Linked DNA regions of Homo sapiens: region 2 is linked to region 1. The links are contacts of gene promoters, found by promoter capture Hi-C in blood cells and fetal thymus (Javierre and others, 2016). All regions are on one chromosome and are shown on one strand. Each heading gives the region's core, a stretch centred on a gene start or on the middle of the fragment in contact. The rest is flanking DNA. Distances are from core to core; before and after follow the strand shown.

Region 1 (6,806 bases), core at 1,649-4,148:
GTGGATCACCTGAGGTCAGGAGATCGAGACCAGCCTGGCCAACATGGTGAAACCCCGTCTCTACTAAAAATACAAAAATTAGCCAGGTGTGGTTTTGTGCGCCTGTAGCCCCAGCTACTCGGGAGGCTGAGGCAGGAGAATTGCTTGAACCTGGGAGGTGGAGGTTGCAGTGAGCTGAGATCATGTCATTGCACTCCAGCCTGGGTGATAAAGCGAGACTCTGTCTCAAAAAAAAAAAAAAAAAAAAAAGTCAGAGGCTCATTTAGGATACAAACTAGATGTGAATAAGTATGGGAAATTTAAAAGATAACCAAATTTGAACCTGAAGTGATCAGCATTTGATATCCTACTGAGATGTCAAAATACTGTTTCTCAGAGAAACTGACTTACCTTTCTTTTCTATTACATAGGCAATGCATGTGTATTGCAGTAAAATTCGACCCAAGTATAACAAATGTTTATATTTAGTGTATATATCTTTAAATATATTCTGACGAACCCTATGCCATTTGCTTAGAACAGATCTGATCGTTCATATGCAATGCTTATGTCCTCAACGAGGCTATAAACTCCATGAGGAGAACCCCTTTACCATAAATCCACATGCCTCCCACCCCCACAGTTTGGTCACTTTCTTTGGGAAGGGATGGGGGAAGTTTATAAATGCTTCCTTCACTAGCACCCATGCATGCATTCATTCATTTGACAAACGTTGTATTGAGCACCTAGTATGGACTTGGGCCAGGTGTAGGAGATTCAAAGGTACATCCCTCCCCTCAGCTTTCCTCCCCACTGCCTTTTTTTTTTTTTTTTTTTGAGACGGAGTCTTGCTCTGTCGCCCAGGCTGGAGTGGAGTGGCGCCATCTCGGCTCACTGCAACCTCCGCCTTCTGGGTTCAAGCTATTCTCCTGCCTCAGCCTCCCGAGTAGGTGGGACTACAGGCGCCCGCCACCATGCCCGGTTAATTTTTGTATTTTTAGTAGAGATGAGGTTTCACCATATTGGCCAGGCTGGTCTCGAACTCCTGACCTTGTGATCCGCCCGCCTTGGCTTCCCAAAGTGCTGGGATTACAGGCGTGAGCCACCGTGCCCGCCCCCCCCGGCTCTGGTTTTTTTTTTTTTTTTTTTTTTTAGACAGAGTCTCCCTCTGTCGCCCAGGCTGGAGTGCAGCGGCGCCATCTTGGCTCACTGCAACCTCCACCTCCTGGGTTCAAGCAATTCTCCTGCCTCAGCCTCCCGAGTAGCTGGGACTACAGGCACACGCCACTACGCCCGGCTAATTTTTGTATTTTTAGTAGAGACGGGGTTTCACCAGACGGGGTTTCACTGTGTTGAGCAGGATGGTCTCGATCTCCTGACCTCATGATCCTACCGCCTCGGCCTCCCAAAGTGCTGGGATGACAGCCGTGAGCCACCGCGCCCGGCCCTGCATGCCCTTTATGACATACCTTTTAGGCCAGGCGCGGTGGCTCATGCCTGTCATCCCAGCACTTTGGGAGGCCGAGGCGGGCAGATCACCTGAGGTCAGGAGATCGAGACCAGCCTGCCCAACATGGTGAAACCCCGTCTCTACTAAAAATACAAAAATTAGCCGGGCGTAGTGGCAGGCGCCTGCAGTCCCAGCTACTCTGGAGGCTGAGGCAGGATAATCACTTGAACCCGGGAGGCGGAGGTTGCAGTGAGCCGAGATGGCACTGCTGCACTCCAGCCTGGGCGACAAGAGCAAAAACTCCATCAAAAAAAAAAAAAAAAAAAAAAGATATACCTTTTTGATCTCAAGAAAGTCACAGTTCAAATAGGGAAACAATACACAATTAACTATTTTACTAAGTACTTGTGCAATTTTAGAGCCATATGTGAAAGTCTTAAGAAAACACAGAAGCAGCCTGGGGTGCGGTGGGTCCTGCCTGTAATCCCAGCACCTTGAGAGGCTGAGGCAGGATGATCGCTTGGGCCCAGGAGTTCAAGACCAGCCTGGGCGACATAGCAAGACCCCATTTCTACAAAAGTAAAAAAAAAAAAAAATAGGTGGGCATGGTGGTGCTTGCTTGTAGTTCCAGCTACTCAGGAAGGAGGCTGAGGCAGGAGGATCGCTTGAGCCCAGGAAGTCAAGGTTGCAAAGTTGCAAGGTTGCAGTGAGTTATGATTGTGCCACTGCAGCCTGAGTGACATAGCGAGACCCTGTGAAAGAAAAAGAAAGAAAGAAAGAAAGAAAGAAAGAAAGAAAGAAAGAAAGAAAGAAAGAAAGAAAGAAAGAGCACAGAAGAGGATTGGGAGGTTATGGGGTACAATTCTTGAGGGGGTGACCCTGGCCAGGCGATGAGAGGGCGGTAGGAAGGGTGATGAGGGGAGAAGAGGATTTAGAAATACAAATTTCAGGGTCTTCTTGTGTCAGCGGGAATTTCTGTCCCTCACAACTTTCATCATAAGATAAATCTAATGTTCAACTAGAGATCTCTCCCGCGCCTTGAACTTGCAAATTTATGAATCAGGGGCAAAAAAAACCCGGATACCGAGCCTGGCCTCCCACCAGCTAGAGAACCCACCAAGTTCCAGGAGGGGCGGGGCCGAGGGCGGTCCGTGCCACAGCTGTGGGCGGGGTTGTCCGTGCTTGCGCCAGAGCCGGCCCGCCCCGCCGCCAGGGGCTGTCGCAGGAGCCAGGCGTGGATTGGTATGTGGGTATGTCGGCCTCTCTTCATAGGCCGCGCAGGATTGCTCGAGAGGCTTTGATTGGCTCAACAGGCGCTGAGCGTTCATTGGCTGCGCTGGGTCGTCAGGGCGACGAAAAAGGGGAAGGGGTGCTGGGCCTGGCGGGCAAACTAAGGCTGCGGACCGTTGGGCGGTTCCGCGGGGCGTTGTCCGGAGAGCTGCGAGGCCGGGGTTCCCAGGGTTCACGCCACACTCTAGGAAGTGCCTGAGCTAGTGAGCTGGCCAACGAGCTCCGCGGGCTGGGACCATGGGCTGCTTCTTCTCCAAGAGACGGAAGGCTGACAAGGAGTCGCGGCCCGAGAACGAGGAGGAGCGGCCAAAGCAGTACAGCTGGGATCAGCGCGAGAAGGTAATGAAAGTCGTGTAGCCGCCGTCTCAGCCTCCCTGAGCCGCTCCGCCAGGTCCCTTACGGCCCGGGACCGCTGAGGGGGCCGACCCAACTGCTGCCGCACTCTCTTGAACGCGGATAGCTGAAGTCGGGGTGCACGACTTTTTTGGGGAGCGGGGACGTGAAGTACAGCGCTAGAGAGGCCGCCCAGAGGGCTGTGGAGCTCCGGAAGGAGCCTTAGGAGTTTGTTGTCGTGGTAGACAGACTCCCCCGGGAGCTTTCTCTGACTCCGAACCCTGCCTTGCTCTGACTTCCTGTTGGAGATGATCGATTCGAGAGAGGGAAAGAGCCGAGAACGCCCTGAATCTCAAATCACCTCGTTTCACCCACCGGCAGCGTCAAGCGGGGTTTTGTCCAGTCGTCGAGTTACGTATATGGGACCGATTCTCATCTCTTCCGGGGCTTAATGTTCTGTGGCTGTTTTCTCTTTTGTCTGCCCTCCCCGGCAAATCTCTTTGGTGCCTCATGATATATTTCACTGCTGAATTTTCTCAATTACCAAGTGGACTGTTTAATGTACAGCTTTACTCCCCCTCCTCTTCCAGTTATCCGAAAGAAATAATGAATATCGCATCAGTCTTGGAATGTGTATTAAGACTGTAAGGTGAAAATAAGCGGCATAAACCAGGCAGTATTTTACTGCTGGTTTAAATGAATGAAAACGCCCTTATTTTTATTTTTGTATATAGCCAGAAACGAAAAACCTTTGAAAACCTCCATTAGTCTTACACAAAACACACTCGGTCATACATTTCATAATAGTTCCTCTTTCTACATAGTTCTCCATTTGTGCTTACTAAACTACTTTGATGGACTTATCAATTATTTCTCCCAAACAAAATGAGAGATTTTTCAAATGGGTATTATGAACAGTTAACTCTTTGCTTAAGGCAACATATCTTTACCCAAGATTACTTTATAATAAATGTATTAACGTTTTGGAATCACAGACCTTTCTGCATGATTTCCAATCCCCAGCAGAATGTATTCAGGTAAGCTCTGGTCTCTAAGAGTCAGAGTTAGGAAATTGAAAGCTTTTTGCAGCTTTTCTCAGCCCCGTCTTTCTGCCCCTACTTCTCATACACACCCTTCTTGGGTCACATGGTACCTTTATTCTCTGTTAGTCATACTCGATAGTAGCATTTTATAATGTAGGGGAAGAAAGTACTATGCTTTCTATTTCACAAGAAGATTGCACCTGCCATTTAAAGTTATCTGATGGGCGGTTTTTAAAAGATATTGTTTTCCTCAGCCTTTGGCTTTCTAACAATGTTCTTTTAGCTTGAATTGTCTGCCTTAGAGAAAGTTGCATATTTCATTTTTATTTTAGTTTTTTCTTTTGAACTCAGGCTAAATCTAAACTAAATAAAATGCCTTTTTTATTTATAGTAGTCTTGGCTGCCTATGACTCATCGTTTCACAATAAATTGTTTTACAGTTAATGTTTATTAACATAATATTCAGGTTAGTTAGGACTTCTCATGTTAATCCTTCTTTTAGATAAGTGTGTGTGTCCTGTGATTTTTTTTCTTCTTTTGCCCATTGGCTAAGTAAATGCATTGAGAAATATAACATTGGACACCAACATCTAAGCTTTTTCCCCACAAATGAGTGTGTAATAAACTTTCAATTGTAGAAACTGTTTTGAGCTTACAGAGAACCTTTTTTTTTGAGAACACTACTAAGTTCTGTAGTTGTAGAGTTGTAAGAGATGTTATTGGATATATAAAATAAGCTCATGCTTCTGAGTGTGTGTATAATAAAAGTTAAAATCTTGATCAACTCAGCCAATCAAAATGAGAATTTCTAACCAAATGAGCATTCTGAAAAAAACCCCAGTTTTAAAATATTTTGGACTGTTGAAGAGAATTACCAGCTTACATTTTGAGACAATGCAGATACCACATTTCCCAACATAGCTTTTTCTTTTTAGTTTTTTTTTCTTTTGGAATTACTAGGAATTCTTTCTAAGTTGCCTCATTTTGATAGCTTGTTAAATTTTATACAATTTAAAATATTTTTTTCTAGGGCCAGGCATGGTGACTCATGCCTGTAATCCCAGGACTTTGGGAGGCCAAGGCTGGTGGCTCTCTTGAGCCCAGGAGTTCCAGACCAGCCTGGGCAATATGGCGAAACCTCATTCCTACTAAAAATACAAAAATTAGTGGGGCATGGTGGTGCACACCTGTAGTCCCAGCTACTCAGTAGGCTGAGGTGGGAGGATCACCTGAGCCTGGGACTTAGAGGCTGCAATGAGTCATGATCGGGCCACTGCCCTCCAGCTTGGGCAACAGAGTGAGACCCTGTTTCCAAAAAAAAAAAATAAATAAATAAAATATTTTTTCCTAGTTCCTTGCCTCCCGTGAGGTTAATTTGGGCTAGTGTGCAAATGTTCTGTATTAGTCCAATGATACGTTTACTGAGCATGGCCTTGCTTGCTCCTAGAAGATTTCAGTTGTACCTTAAAAGGAACAGATTGCAAATACAGCCCAGAGAACATAAATGAGATATGATGCATGCATATTAATAGAAATGATTTATATTAAAAGTTTAGGCTTCTGGAATGTGGTTATGGATTATAGCATATACAGTTTTAAAGTTATATCAGACAATTACCATTCAACTTGTAAGACTTTTACATGTAAAAACAAAATGGGTTGCCTGAAAAATTTCCTTGCAGCTTAGAAAAGGGTGTTTACATTTTTCCTTAGGTTGTGTAATCAGAGTATCTTTTTTTGATGTTTTCTTTTTGAGATGGAGTCTGGCTCTGTCATCGCCCAGGCTGGAATGCAGTGGCGCGATCTCGGCTCACTGCAACCTCTGCCTCCTGGGTTCAAGCGATTCTCCAGCCTCAGCCTCCTGAGTAGCTGGAATTACAGGCGTGCACCACCACGCCTGGCTAATTTTTGTATATTTTTAGTAGAGACAGGGTTTCACCTTGTTGGCCAGGCTAGTCCTGAACTCCTGACCTCAGGTGATCCACCTGCCTCAGCCTCCCAAAGTGCTGGGATTACAGGCGTGAGCCACCGCTCCCAGCCCAGAGTATCTTTATTGAAGGGCACCCCTTGGGTTTTGGGGTTTGAGTTGTGTAATTGGGTCAGTCTTAGGGGACTGAAGCTGGGAGAAATTGTCTCATTTAGAAGGAATGTCTGGGGACTAAGCATTGTCATAGCAACTGACATACTGTAGTCAACAGTGTAAGAAGCTCATTTTCTATTGCTACTGACTTTGAAAAAGAAAAAAGATTACAATTCTTACACTGATGTGATGAGAAATATTTTTGGATTGTAAGACTTGTGTTTAAATTATTTCAAAAGAAATGTTTTTATCCTTATCTGTATGCTGCCACCCATAGGTAGGCAAATTATTCAGTATGTATGTACTCAAACACCAAGTAAGTCTCAAAATTATAAGACTTATCCCTGCCCTAAAAGAGTTTACTGGCTTTCTGGAGTTAAAACAGGAAACATTTAAGTACATATGAGGTGAGGAAGAGTGATACGGAAAAGTAGTTTTCATCTTCCAGTATTCATGCCCATACTTTTCCTCCTAGATAATAGAAATGAGGATTAACTCTAAACAATTATGGCTTAAGTGTGAAAATTGTGATTTGAGTAAGGACAACACATGTGTCTGTTATATTTGTCTCATATTCAATAGAAATAATACTAAACAAAAATCTTATACCAGAAATTCGAGTATCTATTGT
Region 2 (6,806 bases), core at 2,387-4,886, 650 kb after region 1:
ACTCCAGCCTGGGTGACAGAGCAAGACTCTGTCTCAAAAAAAAAAATAAATAAACTATTATGATTTTATTGGAATTATATTTATATGAATATAATAGTTGGGGAGATTTAATGTTTTTATTACATTAAGCCTTTCTTTGTATCTAGGGATTTTATGTGTCTGTTTGATTACGTCTTATATGCTGCAATGATATTTATAATTTTTCTTCTTATAAATCCATCATCTTTTTATCTTTTTTGGTTAAATTTATTTTTTGCATATTTATATTTTTGTTGTCATTAAGACTTATTTTTGCTAGTCCCATCTGGTTACTGCTAGTATAGGAATAACCTATTTTTGTACTTTTCTCTTTTATTTTTATTTTTTGAGATAGGATCTTGCCTTGAAGTTCACTGGCATGATCACAGCTCACTGTAGCCTTAACCTTCCAGGCTCAAATGATCCTCCTTCCTCAGCCTCCCAAGTAGCTGGGACTACAGGTGTGCACTACCAGACCCAGCTAATTTTTAAATTTTTCCGTAGAGATAGGTTCTCCCTATGTTGCCCAGGCTGGTGTCAAACTCCTGGACTCAAGTGATCCTCCCACCTCAGCCTCCCTAATGGCTGGGACTACAGGTGATAATTTTATCTTGTATCCAACTCCTTATCAAAACTATCTACCTATTCTGGTAGCTTCTTATTACAGTTTTTTCCTAGGTTTTCTAATTGTACAGTTGTATCAGATATAGATAATATTTCCTATCTGACATTTGATATATTTCTTCTTTTTTCACTGTATTAGCTGTCTAATAAGGTAGCGTCTAAGCTCATTGGCTATTTATTTTATTTTTTATTATTATTTTTTGAGACAGGGTCTCACTCTGTCACCTAGGCTGGAGTGTAGTGGCACGATCTCTACTCACTGCAGCCTCTACCTCCCAGGCTCAGGTGATCCCCTCACCTCAGCCCTCCAAGTAGCTGGGACTACAGGCATGTACCACCACGCCCAGCTAATTTTTGTATTTGTAGAGACTTGATTTCACCATGTTGCCCAGACTGATCTCAGACTCTTGACCTCAAGGGATCCACCTGCCTTGGCCTCCCAAAGTGCTGGGATTACAGGCATGAGCCACCACGCCTGGCCTGCTGTTTAAATTTAAGTTAAATAAAACTTAAAATTCGGTTTCTCAGTTGCCTAGCCACATTTCAAGTGCTCAGTACCCACATATGGCTAGTGGCTACTGTACTGGATGATGCTAAATATAGAAACATTTCCATCATTGCAGAATGATGGACAATGCTGTATTGGACAATGCTGAAATAGAGCCTCAGTTGTATTGGACAATGCTGAGATAAATCCTTCAAAATAATGTTGAGTAATAGATGTGATAGAAAACATCCCTATCTTGTTGCCAGTGTTCATGGAAATGATTTAAACATTTTACCGTTTAGTATAAAGTTTTCTGGCAAATTTTGGAAAATAGTGTTGTCCATTTTAAGTAGTTTTCTTTTTTTTTTTTTTGAGACAGAGTCTCGCTCTGTCACCCAGGCTGGAGTGCAGTGGTGACATCTCAGCTCACTGCAGCCTCCACCTCCCGGGTTCAAGTGATTCTCGTGCCTCAGCCTCCTGAGAAGCTGGGACTACAGATATACATCACCATGCCAGGCTAATTTTTATTTTTATAGAGATGAGGTCTCAGTCTGGTCTCAAACTCCCAGCTTCAAGTGATCCTCCCATCTTGGCCTCTCAAAGTCCTGGGATTACAGGCGTGAGCCACCCTGCCCCTCCAGTCTCTTTATTTTATTATTATTGTTATTTTTAGACTGAGTCTCACTCTATTGCCCAGGCTAGAGTGCAGTGGCGTGATCTCAGCTCACTACAACCTCCGCCTCCTGGGTTCAAGTGATTCTCCTGCCTCAGCCTCCCAAGTAGCTGGGATTACAGGTGCCTGCTACCATGCCCAGCTCATTTTTGTATTTCTAGTAGAGACAGGGTTTCACCATGTTGGCCAGGCTAGTCTCGAACTCCTGACCTCAGGTGATTCACCTGCCTCGGCCTCCCAGAGTGCTGGGATTACAGGCATGAGCCACCACACCCAGCCCCAGTCTCTTTATTTTAAATGTGCTTCTAGGCTGGGCATGGTGGCTCATGCCTGTAATCCCAGCACTTTGGGAGGCCGAGGTGGGTGGATCACCTGAGGTCAGGAGTTCGAGACCAGCCTGACCAACATAGAGAAACCCTGTCTCTACTAAAAATACAAAATTAGCCGGGCATGGTGGCGGATGCCTGTAATCCCAGCTATTTGGGAGGCTGAGGCAGGAGAATTGCTTGAACCCAGGAGGCGGAGGTTGCAGTGAGCCGAGATCACGCCATTGCACTCCAGCCCGGGCAACAAGAACAAAACTCCATCTCAAAAAAAAAAAAGTGCTTCTAGTAAATAACACATAACTTTTGTTTTATAACCCAATGTTACAGTCCCTCTCTTATAGGAGAACCCAATCCATTCAGTTTATCAGTGATATGCCTGTTTTTGTGTGTTCCATCGGACTTTGTTTCCTTTTTTCGATTTTGTTATTGTTTCCACCTTTTCAATTTTCTTACATTTGTTGGCTCTCTCAAGCTTCTGTTTATTCCCCTTCTCCCTCCCTTAGTAATTTGGAAGTTCTACTCTGCTTATCAATTCTTCTGATGATTATCTTTCCATTCCTTATAAGCATAATTCACATTTTCTCTATTGGTAGATTAAGCACACACATGGGCGCACACACACACACACACACACACACACACACACACACACAGGTGTGTTACTGGCCTTTACTCCTAATTTCTCAGGAGAATGAACCATTTAGAATGTTTTTACCTCTTCATTCTGCCCTCACCCAAAATTTCTGTTCTTAGAAAAGAACAGATCTTTTTTTTTCTGAGTTTTTTTTTTTTTTAATTAGAAGAGACGCTGGAAGCATGATGACAGCAGCGTAGTTTTCACTCTCTTGTTATGCCAGCATACAGACAGAGCAACCAGATGACAAAATCAAAACCCATGGGTAATATTTACGGTGAGGCCAGTAGACACAGTGTCCCCAGTGTGGCAGATTTTCTGCAGATAGGGCTGCCAGCTGTATTTCCAACCCTGTATGTGTTTGCCACCCTCCCATCAAGACATGGTGCCTATTTTTTCATCCTTTGTGTCTGGGCTGGCCTTGTGTTCCATTTGACCAATAAGGTATGGTAGAAATGGCATTCTGGGACTTCTGAGCCCAACCTTAAAAGACATTGAACTTTTGCTTTAGTGAGAGGGGAATCAAGATACCCTGTAAAGAGGTCTGTGCTGTCCTTCTGAAGACAGAGGTCCTGGAAGATGAGACACTTTTTAAAAATAGGTCATGCAGCGCTGTGGCAGCCACCCAGCTAGCTCAGTTGGTAGAGCATGAGACTCTTAAATATAGGCCATGTACATAACTGAGGCCCCAGCTGGCAGCTAGCACTGAGGTCTCAGTCGTATCATGAAATTATCTTGCATCCTCCAGTACCATTCCAGCTTCTCCAGGCATCATATAGAGAAGAAACAAGTCTGGGCGTGGTGGTTCACACCTGTAATCCCAGCACTTTGGTAGGCCGAAGCAGGCAGATCATCTGAAGCAGTGAAGCAAGGAGTTTGAGACCAGCCTGGGTAGCAAAGCAAGACCTCATCTCTACTAAAATATATTAGTCAGGCACAGTGGCACATGCTGGTAGTCCCAGCTACTCAGGAGGCTGAGGTGGGAGGATTGCTGTGCCCAGGATTTTGAGGCTGCAGTGAGCTATGATCGCACTACTGTACTCCAATGGTCAACAGAACAAGATCCCACCTCTTAAAAAAAAGAAGAAGAAGAAGAAACGAGCCATCCCCACTGAGCCATGCCCAGATTCGTGAGCAATAAAATAGTTATTAATCCACTAAGTTTTGGTGTGGTTTACTTACACAGCAATAGATAGCTGAAATATCCATGAATATCAAAATACACATGAGTAAGCCCAAGTCACCAACAGCCACAACAACTTCATGGTACAATTATCTGTATAGGAAAAAGCAGGGGGAAGTAAGCAGTATTTGCCAGACCTGAGAACACAATACCAAAACAGCCAATGGGCATGGCAGACCAACTTGAATTCAGCAGCTGAAACTGGGAGGAATTTTGCAAAATTCAGCAACGAGTGAGAGGGGTCTGCAGGAAGGTTGGAAGGGGTTGGAGCAGACTATAATAATTCCTAGGAACTCTTTTTTCTTTCTTTCTTTTCTTTTCTTTTCTTGGATCATGGCCGGAGTGCAGTGCCATGATCTTGGCTCACCTAAGCCTCAACCTCCCAGGCTCAAGCAATCCTCTCCCCGCAGCCTCCCGAATAGCTGAGACTACAGGCACATGCCATCACACTGAGCTCATTTCTTAAATTTTTAGTGGAGACAAAGTCTAGCTATGTTGCCCAGGCTGGTCTTGAACTCCTGAGCTCAAGTGATCCTCCTGCCTCAACTTCCCAAAATGCCAGGATTACAGGCATGAGCCACCATGCCCAGCCTTCTATGAACTCTTAAGACGGACTGTGCTTGGGGGGTTCCCAGGACCAACCTCAGGTTCACTGATTGACTATGAAGGACTCAGAATTCAGCAATGGAAAAGGGCACATAGGGCAGAGTCCAGGGGAAACAAGGATCAAGCTTTGGGTTCGCCCTTCTTGGTGTAGTCATACGGCCAGTGCTTAATTCTCCTAGCAAGATGTGGGGTAACATACATGAAATATTACCAACCATGGGCTCTCACTTTAGCCTCGGTGTCTGTGGTTTTTATTTGGAGTCAGTTTCAGGCATGGCCAACTACCTGTGTGGTTGACCTTACTCAGTCCTTCCAAGGTTCACGCTGATACTGCACAGCCCAAGACTCACCAAGAATCACAGCTATCTGGCATGGCTCATGCACTCAAGTAAACAAAGATTTCTTAACAGGCAGTATATTCCAAGGGTTTAGAGCAGTGGTCCCCAACCTTTTTGGCACCAGGGACCAGTTTTGTGGAAGACAATCTTTCCATGGACATGGAGCGGGGTGGAGGGGGATGGTTTTGGGATGAAACTGTTCCATCTCAGATCACCAGGCGTTAGATTCTCATAAGGAGTGTGCAACCTAGATCCCTTGCATGCGCAGTTCACAATAGAGTTTGTGCTCCTATGAGAATCTAATGCTGCCACTGATCTGACAGGAGGTGGAGCTCAAGCAGTATCGCTCCCTTGCCTGCTTCTCACCTCCTGCTGTGCGGCCCAGTTCCTAACAGGCCTTGGACTCATACTGGTCTGTGGACTGGCAGTTGGGGACCCCTGACTTACAGGTTATATCCCAGGAGCTGGGGCAAGGGCCAAACCTTTCCTTGGAATGCACAAGGTTTAAACAACCCAGACCTCCTAAGTTAATTCTTTACTGTATGATGACATACCAGGGCTGTCTTCTAGGACAGCAGACCACACTAAGAAACTACTGGGAGTGAAACAAAAATTAAGCAAGATAGGGCAATAGTAAATGTAATTTTTTTTGTTTTGTTTTTTTTCTGAGATGGTCTTGCTCTGTTGCCCAGGCTGGAGTGCAGTGGTGCGATCATAGCTCACTGCAGCCTCATCCTCCCCAGGCTCAAGTGATACTCCCACCTCAGCTTCCTGAGTAGCTGAGACAACGGGTGCATGCCATCACAGCTGGCTAATTTTTTGTATTTTTTTTGTAGAGATGGGGTTTCACTGTGTTGCCCAGGCTGGTCTCAAACTCCTGGGCTCAAGCAGTCCACCCACCTCGGCCTTTGAAATTGCTGGGATTATAGGCATTCGCCACTGCACCCAGCCTCTCATGTTTGTTTTGTTTTGTTTTTATTATTATTTAATTGACAAAGAAAAATTGTATATATTTATGGTATTAATAGAGGTAGAGGGAAAAAACAGTCTTTCTTTCTTTTCTTTTTTTTTTTGTTTTTTGAGATGGGGTCTTGCTCTGTCTCCCAGGCTGGAGTGCAGTGGCGTGATCTTGGCTCACTACAACCTCCACCTCCCGGGTTCAAGCGATTCTCCTGCCTCAGCCTCCTGAGTAGCTGGGATTACAGGCACCCGCCATCATGCCCGGCTAATTTTTGTATTTTTGTAGAGACGGGGTTTTACCATGTTGGCCAGGCTAGTCTTGAACTCTTGACCTCGGGTGATCTGCCCACCTCGGCCTCCCAAAGTGCTGGGATTACAGGCATGAGCCACCACGCCTGGCCGAAACAGTGTTTCTCTTACCCTAACACAGCCAACATAACACTTCTGACATTAGATTCTCCAGTGGATACCACCTGGGTGTCCTCCAATTCAATTCTGACGCTACCTGAAAATACTGCCATTAGAGGGCTCAATACCACAAGACTGCCCCCACTTCAGATGCCAATTGTAAGTCCCAGGTTGTGACCTACACGTCTGACCAACCAGCTATAAATCAATGACCCCCTCTTTGGGTTCAATTAATTTGCTAGAGCAGCTCCTAGAATTTAGGGAAACATTACTTACATTTACCTATTTATTATCAAGGGTATTACAAAGGATGCAGATGAATAGCAGATGGAAGAGATGCATAGAGTGAGGAATGGGGGAAGGGGTGCAGAGCTTCCATGCCCTCTCTAGTCATGCCACCCTCTAGGAATCTCACTGTGTTCAACTATCTGGAAGCTCATCCAAAGCCAGTTCTTTTGGGCTTTTATGGAAACTTCATTATGTAGGCATGATTGGTTATGTAATTGGCCATTGGTGATCAATTCAACATTTTGCCCTTCTCCCCTCCCC

The links. Contacts are between HindIII fragments. The CHiCAGO score rates a contact against its expected background, and 5 or more counts as called.
Region 2: a contact is called between a fragment that was not itself captured here and the fragment with the promoter of RP2 in region 1, in 1 of 17 cell types (neutrophils). The highest score is 5.1, in neutrophils.

Annotation. Positions count from the first base shown.
Region 1 is chrX:46,834,145-46,840,950 of GRCh38, forward strand. It overlaps RP2 (RP2 activator of ARL3 GTPase), which reads left to right and starts at 2,899. Exons shown (of 5, transcript NM_006915.3): 1 at 2,899-3,058. The coding sequence starts at 2,957. RefSeq lists a silencer at 2,501-2,580 and an enhancer at 2,891-3,030. The HindIII fragment of the contact is 11,862 bases long and covers 1-4,129 here.
Region 2 is chrX:47,486,685-47,493,490 of GRCh38, forward strand. No RefSeq gene overlaps it. Among named protein-coding and RNA genes, the nearest start is that of ZNF41, 6.9 kb to the left of the region's middle. The HindIII fragment of the contact is 2,076 bases long and covers 2,599-4,674 here.